Linked DNA regions of Homo sapiens: region 2 is linked to region 1. Evidence: promoter capture Hi-C in human tissues and cell types (Jung and others, 2019). All regions are on one chromosome and are shown on one strand. The core of a region is centred on a gene start or on the middle of the fragment in contact, and the rest is flanking DNA. Distances in the headings are between cores, read along the strand shown.

Region 1 (3,453 bases), core at 55-2,554:
CTTAAACAACCCGGCAGAGGAGAGAACCCGACACTCAGGAGCGCTGGCATCCCAGCCTTGCCTACTGGAGAGGTGACTTGGTCCCCGAACCTCAGTTCTTCCACCTGTGAAATGCAGATCATAAAGGTGGATCTGGCCTCACAGCTCTGGGCCCGTAGGACAAGCTGGACAGAGGGCAGACGGTATTATCGCTTTCACTACTATTACTGGTGGCTTTCCTTCCCAGCCTTTCTGGTGGGTGGTCAGACACAGGGCAGAACTTTCTCATGAAGGCAGCTGAAGGAACTCACAAGTTTCTTCCAGCAGGGAGGACAGAGGGAAGGAGAAGTGTCTTCCCGGCACTGCTGTGGGCCCAGGACATCTGCTGCATGGAGGCAGGGGCATGGATGAAAAGACACAGATGACCTGATGGAATGGTGCCCCAGCTTCCTCCTCCTCCCCTTTTTGGAGGTGCCTCTGTTTGCCGAGGATGGGCTCTGGGGAAGCTGGTGTGCAGAGGCTAGGTGCCCAGCCTTGCTTTAGGAAAGCCTCACAAAGTCTGGGGCCCGCCGGGAGTTTCCCAGGGGGGCTCTGCTGCTCCACCCACTCTCGCTCCCCTCTGTGCCCTGACTCAGCAGGAACAGAGGCTTGAGCTCCAGGCCTGGCCTGCCAGGGGCTGCCAAGTTGGTGCTGGACATCTGCAGAATCCCTGAGCCTCTCTGCCCTGGCCCTGGCTGCTCTAGCCATCTGGTCAGCAGGCCACGGGCACATCTGTCTCCTCCCTGGAGCCCTTGGTTCATTCTCGCTGGGTCTCCCTGCGTCCCTCCACCTGCTTAGGCCCCTGCATCTCGGGAGCTTTCTGAGGCTCGTGACCTGGGGCACGGTCGTCCCGGAAGTTCAGCCTTTCCCTCCGTACAACGGAGCCATCAGACGGGACACCTCATACATCCCAGACCCCATTCTCAGGAGCCCCAGGGACAGGGCCCGCTCTGGAGGCAGAAGCCGGACAGGCGGGGCTGGGGCTTTGCCACCGCCAGCCTCCCCGGTAACCTCAGGCCAGCGGCTGCTCCGTCTGGACACCCGACATGTGGCCCCCAGTTCTGGACCCGGGAAGAAGGCCTCCCTGCTCGCCGCTCCTGGGCCGCCGCCGCCGGCAGCAGCCAACAGGCAGCTGGGCCGGCCTGGCCGGGCTCCAGAGGCGCAGAGCGGGTTAAAGTGTGCGCCAGGCCGGCCGGCGCGGGCGGGGGAGCGGCCTGGTGGGAAGTGTGAGTGTTCCTCCCCGTCTGCCTGACAGCTATAAAGGCGGCCGCCGGCGCAGAGCCGCCACTGGGCTGCGCCCCTCCCGGGAACCCCCTCTCTTGGATGCTCTTTGAAGTGGGAGAGGGAGGCGGCGCGGGGGAGGAGGGGAAGGGGAGAGGGAGGCCGGGCCGCAGCCTCTGCACTCACGCCGCCCCCGCACGCACAGCGCACCTGGCGCCGTCTGCCCTCCGCAGCGCTCGCCCCTTTCTCTGGGAGGACAACCTGCTGACCCGAAGCCAGGTAGGCCACCTCGTCCCCGTCCCCCTCACGTTGCAGCGTCCACCAGGCCAGCCCACTGCTCAGAGTGGGGCTGGGGGTAGGAGCACCCCGCGCCCTCTGGAGCCGTTACATAACGTGGGGAGGCTTGTGGGGAGGGGTCGGGCCGCAGAGCACGGGGCAGGGTGGCCTCCCAGCACCTAGCCTTGTGCGCCCGGAGCTCTGTGTGCACGGCAGACCTCTCTGCTGCCGCCAGCCGCTGCTTTTGGACCCCAGGGAGGGATGGATCCCCGTGAGCGAGGCCTGGCCAGAAGCCAGTGGTGTCTGGAAGCCTTAATGAAAAAAGCAAGTGTGAGGCCGGCTGGCACCTGTCTTCAGCCGGCAGGCAGAGGCTGGGGCACCCGTTAGCCAATGGCACAGTGGAGGGGGCTCCTGTGGGTGTGAGGCTGAGAGTGCAGATGGAGGTCTGCAGGGGAGGGAGGTGGGGGGCAGGCGGCGGGGGCAGGGGAGGTCAGACTCAGGCTCCCCACTCCAGGGTGCACTGCTGCGTCGTCCGGGCTGCAGTGGTGTCCTTGGAGTGGCCCCTGAAAATCTGCAGGTGCCGGGCCTGCAAGGAAACTCTTCAAGTTGGATGGAGGCTGCTGAGGAGGGAGGGGCAGAGCCCGAGTTGGCCTCTGGCCTGGCAGGGGTGAGGGGTGACCTCCATGCCTTCTTCCCCTGGAATTGGCCAGGCGTGGGGGTCGAGTCCCTGAGTTTGCTAGTGTGCTACCTTGCTGTGTGGCTTTGAGCAGGTTGGCTCCCCTCTCTGGGCTCCAGGTTATGAGTGCAGGCTGCGTGGTTTCTGAAATCCCTTCTCTAACTCGCTGGCAAGTGACCCTCAGCACCTGAGCAAGGCCTGGACAGAGGTCATGGTGGATCTCTGGTCTTCCCTTCCACAGGGCAGGGTCGACGCTGAGGAGGGGGTGGGGAGAGCTGAGGGCCTGGAGGCTGGACAGTCCCTTCCAATGGGCTTGCTTTGACCCCTGGCAGGTGTTTTGAGCCAAGGGTGCTGGCTGTTGGGAGGAAGTCAGCCTTGTGGCCCTGGACTGCTGACATGCTGGCACAAACTGCACCTCCTCCTGCCCTGCCCCTCCCCCAATTCCATCTTCTCTCCGGGGATCGGGAGGCGGCATAGGTACCTGGGTTCTGCCTCACCTGAGTGCCGGCTGTTGCTGGATGCTGACTGTGGAGCTGCTGGTCTAGGGCGAGGCTGCACATTCCCCCGGGACCTGGCCAAGCCCATCCCCATGCACTGACCCTAGCAGCCAGTGGCAGAGGCCATTCTCCTGCGAGGCCAGCAAGAGCTGAGCCAGTTAAAATCCCAAGGTGCTCCTGCCAAGGCGCTGGACTGAGCCCAGGCCCATCCCTTCGAACCAGAGCCTTTCCCCCCGCCTGGGTCCCCAGCCCCCTCAGCCGAGGCTGGCTGTCTCCACAGCCCTTCTCTAGGGGGCTTGAGGACTTGGAGGCAAAGCATGGCATGCTTCCCTGCATGCCCTTGGATCAAGGGTGGCACAGGCTTAGCACGCACACCGCCGCTGGGTGTCTTGCCTGAAGCAGGCATTACTAATCATTCACCAAGCTCCTTCTTGCTAAGCCTAGACTGAGGCGGGGGGTTCATCCTTCCCAACAGGGTCTGCCAGACAACCACGACCAACTAGTCCCAGATAACCTTGAGGCCTGGGCACTGGCTGGGCCCCGAGGGCTCTTCCCAAAGCGTACCCTGGTCATCTGGAAGAGGATCGGAGCTGGCCTGGTGGTGACAGTGGCCTTGCTTCCTAGGATGGATGGCAGATGGCAATGTTCCTGCTGGGCCTGGTTCCTGCTGGTTCTGGCAGTTGTAGCTGGGGACACAGTGTCAACCGGGTCCACGGTGAGTGGGGTGTTGTGGTCTGAGGGCCCATGCCAGTCCCCTACCCAGGT
Region 2 (3,687 bases), core at 1,182-3,681, 130 kb after region 1:
GCCCACAGCTTTGTTCGAGCTCAGTCCACAGTGGGCCGCGTGGCCTGGGAGCGTCCAGTGGCAGCTGGGGCCTGCCAGGACTGCTGCCCCCAGATCGCTGTTTGCTGTGTGTGTGGCTCTGTGGGGCCCCGGCTCCACGATACCCTCAAGCATCTGCCTCCCGCTCTTCCCAGATTGCAGGGCATGCCTGGCAAGACTGCGCAGTGCCGCTCTGACGGGCCTGATCTGAACCTGGGCTCGGGGGGACAAGGGAGGGGACTGAGCACGTGGGATGGACAGAGATGCACACCCCTCCCAGGCAGGAGAGGCAGAGCTGCTTCTGACACACAGGCAGTTATCAGGGGGAAGAGAAGGTGGGCAGAGGAGCCACCCCATCTCAAGGCAGCGTGCAGGGCAGAGCCTAAGAGAGGGTCCTCCTGCAAGGGCCAGACAAGGAGGAGGGCATGGGCAGGAACCGCGTCCAAATCAACAGCAAAGACAAAGGTCACCTAGAAAGGGGGACTCCACCAGACTCTTACCCAGCAGCACGTCCCTCCTGCCTGGGCCTGGTGAGCGAGGGGCTCAAGGGGAAACTGAGGCAGGAGCTGGCACTTCTGTGTGGGTGAGGAGGGCACCAATCTGAGGCCCCGCCCGCTCCCTGCTTCGGCTCCTCTGTGTTCCCGGGCTGCCGACTCTCAGGAGGCTTTGCCACCTGAAGAACAGGGAGGTCGAGCAAGGTAAGAAGAGCTTTCCAGCTCCTGTTCCGACCTGAGAGCCGAGAGGCACCATCCTGAAGAATGGCCTTGGTCCCAGGCCTCCATGTGCGCTGTGGCAGACAATGCCAGTCGATCACCTCTCTTTCCTGACCCAGACACAGCCTCATGCTCTTCAGCCAAGTGCCCCAGGGAAGCCCGCCACCGATCAGTCAAGCCTGGAGTAAAAGATGAAGCCTATTTGCTTCGCTGTTTTCACGTGGGGCTTATCAAGTATTTACTAAGCACCTTCTAGAAGCTTGGAAAGGGCTACAAGCCATGGTCCCTGAGCCCAAGACACTTACAGGTTTGCTTTCTGGGAGGATTGGGGTGGATTAGAGACTGCCTTCCAGTCAGTGACCACAGGATGGGCCATCTTGGTCTCTGTCCGTATCTGGTTTGGGGGTTTTCGCAGGACTAGGCCTAGGCTAAGGACAGGGAGGGCACAAGTTCTGGCTGGGTCCAGGGTCCTGGGACCCAGGGCCATTTGGGACCTGTGAGAATGGATGGACAGCATGGGATGGGGCATGTGGTCTGAGCCCTCAGTAGATTCCCTTCACCCTCTTGTTGTTGGGGTCGAAGGGCGACTTCAGGTGAGCCTGGGCACCATAGGTCACCCCCATTCTCTCCAGGGCATAGTCCCCGCTCTTCACAAAGTCCAGCGAGACCTAGGAGCAGAGGTGGGGATGAGGATCACTCTCTGTTGGTAGGTACAGGGCTCACGTCTGCCTGCTTCTCTGGAGGAGGGGGTCTTGGTCTTGCTACCTGCCCTGTGGGCAAACTCATCCCTGTGCCAGGGACTCCTTTCTGAACCCAGGCATTGCCCCAGAGCAGGTGCAGTTCGTGTCCATGTGATCTTGAGTTGGACATGGGCATCTGGGGTCCGGCAAAGCCAAGGTCTGGCAGCCAATATGACTTCCACCGGACAACACACCTCCCACCCCAGCAATTCCAGATGCCTGGGAAACAGCAGCAACACGGTGGCTTCCCCGGACCCGGGCAAGCACAGCGGCCAGAGCAGCGCCGAGGCTGGGGGCCAATCCGGCTCGAATCCCTCGGGGCAGGGGCGGCTGGAACAGCCTTCTAGACAGCTTGGCCTCTGCATGCTCCCCATCCCACACCCTGGCTCGGGCTCCCCAGCAAGCGCTCGGGAGCCAGTCAGCCCCAGGTGCAGGTGCTCTTAGGCAGGAGGAGGGTGTCACCTCCAGCCTGGCACAGCTGGTGACGCCTGGCACTTTTGCTGCAGCTGCTATGAGGAGGGCAGGCTAGGCCACTCAGGGAAGCTGTTCTTCCTTTACAGCAATTAAACCCAAGGTCAGGGCCACAGGAGGGAGTCTCGGGCTCCGCTCTGGGAGTCAGAGGGCTCCTTCTTGTTCCTAGCAGCTCAGGACTGGATGAAAAAAATAAAAAACAAACCAAGCTTTTTCTGCGACAGGAGCTTTAGGAGTGGTGCTTCTGAGCCATGTGTGCACCTGCAGGGCTGAGAGCTCTGAGCTGCCCCCCGCAGGCAGGCAGCATGGAGAGCTGGTGGCCTTCAGATGTCCACGGGCATGCACAACTCAAAGCGGGCATCTGGCCTTGCTAACAGATACCTACGAGGCAGAAACGCCTTCCCCATCTCGGAGCCTTTCCCATCAATGAGCAGGTTTCCCTATCTTAGGCAGAAACCTCCGTTACCCCACTTGGGTGCTAGAAAATGTTTAACAACCAGCTCTGGGGTGAGGTGGGTGTGACTGTAGCATTTGCCCATTTCCATGGTGCAAATGCTCTGGACAGCCCTGATGGAGGGGGCAGGAGACGTGCACCGGCCGCTCTGGGTGCATCGACTGGTTCCCCGGCTGCCTGTCTGGATGCCGTTTAACCTCGGAACCTCGGCTTCCCTGGTCACGTTGGTTATGGACCCATCCCTGACTCCGGAGAAAGGCGAGCATTACTGTTCTTTGAAGAAATGGCAAAGGAGCCTCCACTCCCCAGCCCACCCTGGCATGGAGCCCATAAACTCCGGTTTGGCTGGGCCCCAGGGCTGTGGCCCCCAGGACCATGGCCCCAGGGCTGTGTCAGGAGGCCCTGCCCACCGTGGGAGCCATGCCATCACAATCCCCACATATTAAGACTCACTCTGTGCAGTGGCCTGTATGACAGCCCTGCATGGTAGGTGAGTGTCCACATTTTATAAATGAGGAAACTGAGGCTCCAAGAGAGGATCCTTATCCAAGGTCACAAAGCAAGTAAAAGGCAGATCCAAAGGCTAGTGGCATCAAGTGTGTCCCCAGCCTCCCAGCTCCACCGCCGGACTCAGCCCCATGGGCTGCCACTTCCCCACAGCTCCACAGGACCATGGTCTTGCCCGAGGCCTGGCGGTGTCCCCTCCCCATTGGGCCTGCGAGCTGGGCCTGCGCATGTTCTGCAGCTCTTGCTAAGGCTGCTCCGTCTCCAGCCTACCCCTCCTCATGGCTTCTCCCAAGTGCTCGCTCCCTCCCCAATTCCCTCTACGTGTCCATCAGGGGCTCAGGCTGGAAGGCTCTGGAGCCAGGCCAGCACCTCCCGGCCTCACTTAGGGCTTAGGCCAAACGTCAGATCGGCTCCCATGGAGAGACACGACCCTCCTCACCGGCACCTCTACTTGCAGTGCCAGAAAGATGGGAAAAGGAGGTGGAGGTAGAGACCACCCCTTCCCCTTCTGGGGAGGCTGCCCACCCCCTGCCCCACCACCCCTGGCCACCCAGAGCTGTCCTGGGACTTGCTCCTGGGGGCAGTGCCTGCTCTTTCCAGCCTGTTCCTGCCTCCTGCAGCCAGGGGTCAGGGTCACCTGGAGGGGGTGGGGTTGCCTGGGGTCAGGGGTGTCGGGGGTGAGGAAAGAGAGGATAGGAACATGGGTCTCTGAGTCTCTAGTCGGTCACCCTGGGGGCCACCCCTGCACCCCAGGCAAAGGGTGGGCTGTGGGTGGCCTGAGGTT

What was found. The method cuts DNA at HindIII sites, captures the fragments that hold promoters and counts their contacts. A contact is called where the count stands out against the background at its distance.
Region 2: a fragment that was not itself captured here is called in contact with the fragment with the promoter of ADAMTSL2 in region 1 in 1 of the 25 tissues and cell types used here (H1 embryonic stem cells).

The regions. Positions count from the first base shown.
Region 1 is chr9:133,533,400-133,536,852 of GRCh38, forward strand. ADAMTSL2 (ADAMTS like 2) reads left to right here and starts at 1,305. Exons shown (of 19, transcript NM_014694.4): 1 at 1,305-1,518; 2 at 3,164-3,403. The coding sequence starts at 3,314. RefSeq lists enhancers at 170-711, 712-1,251, 1,252-1,793, 2,334-2,875, 3,416-3,453. The HindIII fragment of the contact is 7,890 bases long and covers 1-3,453 here.
Region 2 is chr9:133,662,616-133,666,302 of GRCh38, forward strand. SARDH (sarcosine dehydrogenase) reads right to left here. Exons shown (of 21, transcript NM_001134707.2): 21 at 945-1,399. The coding sequence ends at 1,274. Among named protein-coding and RNA genes, the nearest start is that of DBH-AS1, 7.1 kb to the left of the region's middle. The HindIII fragment of the contact is 7,104 bases long and covers 1-3,687 here.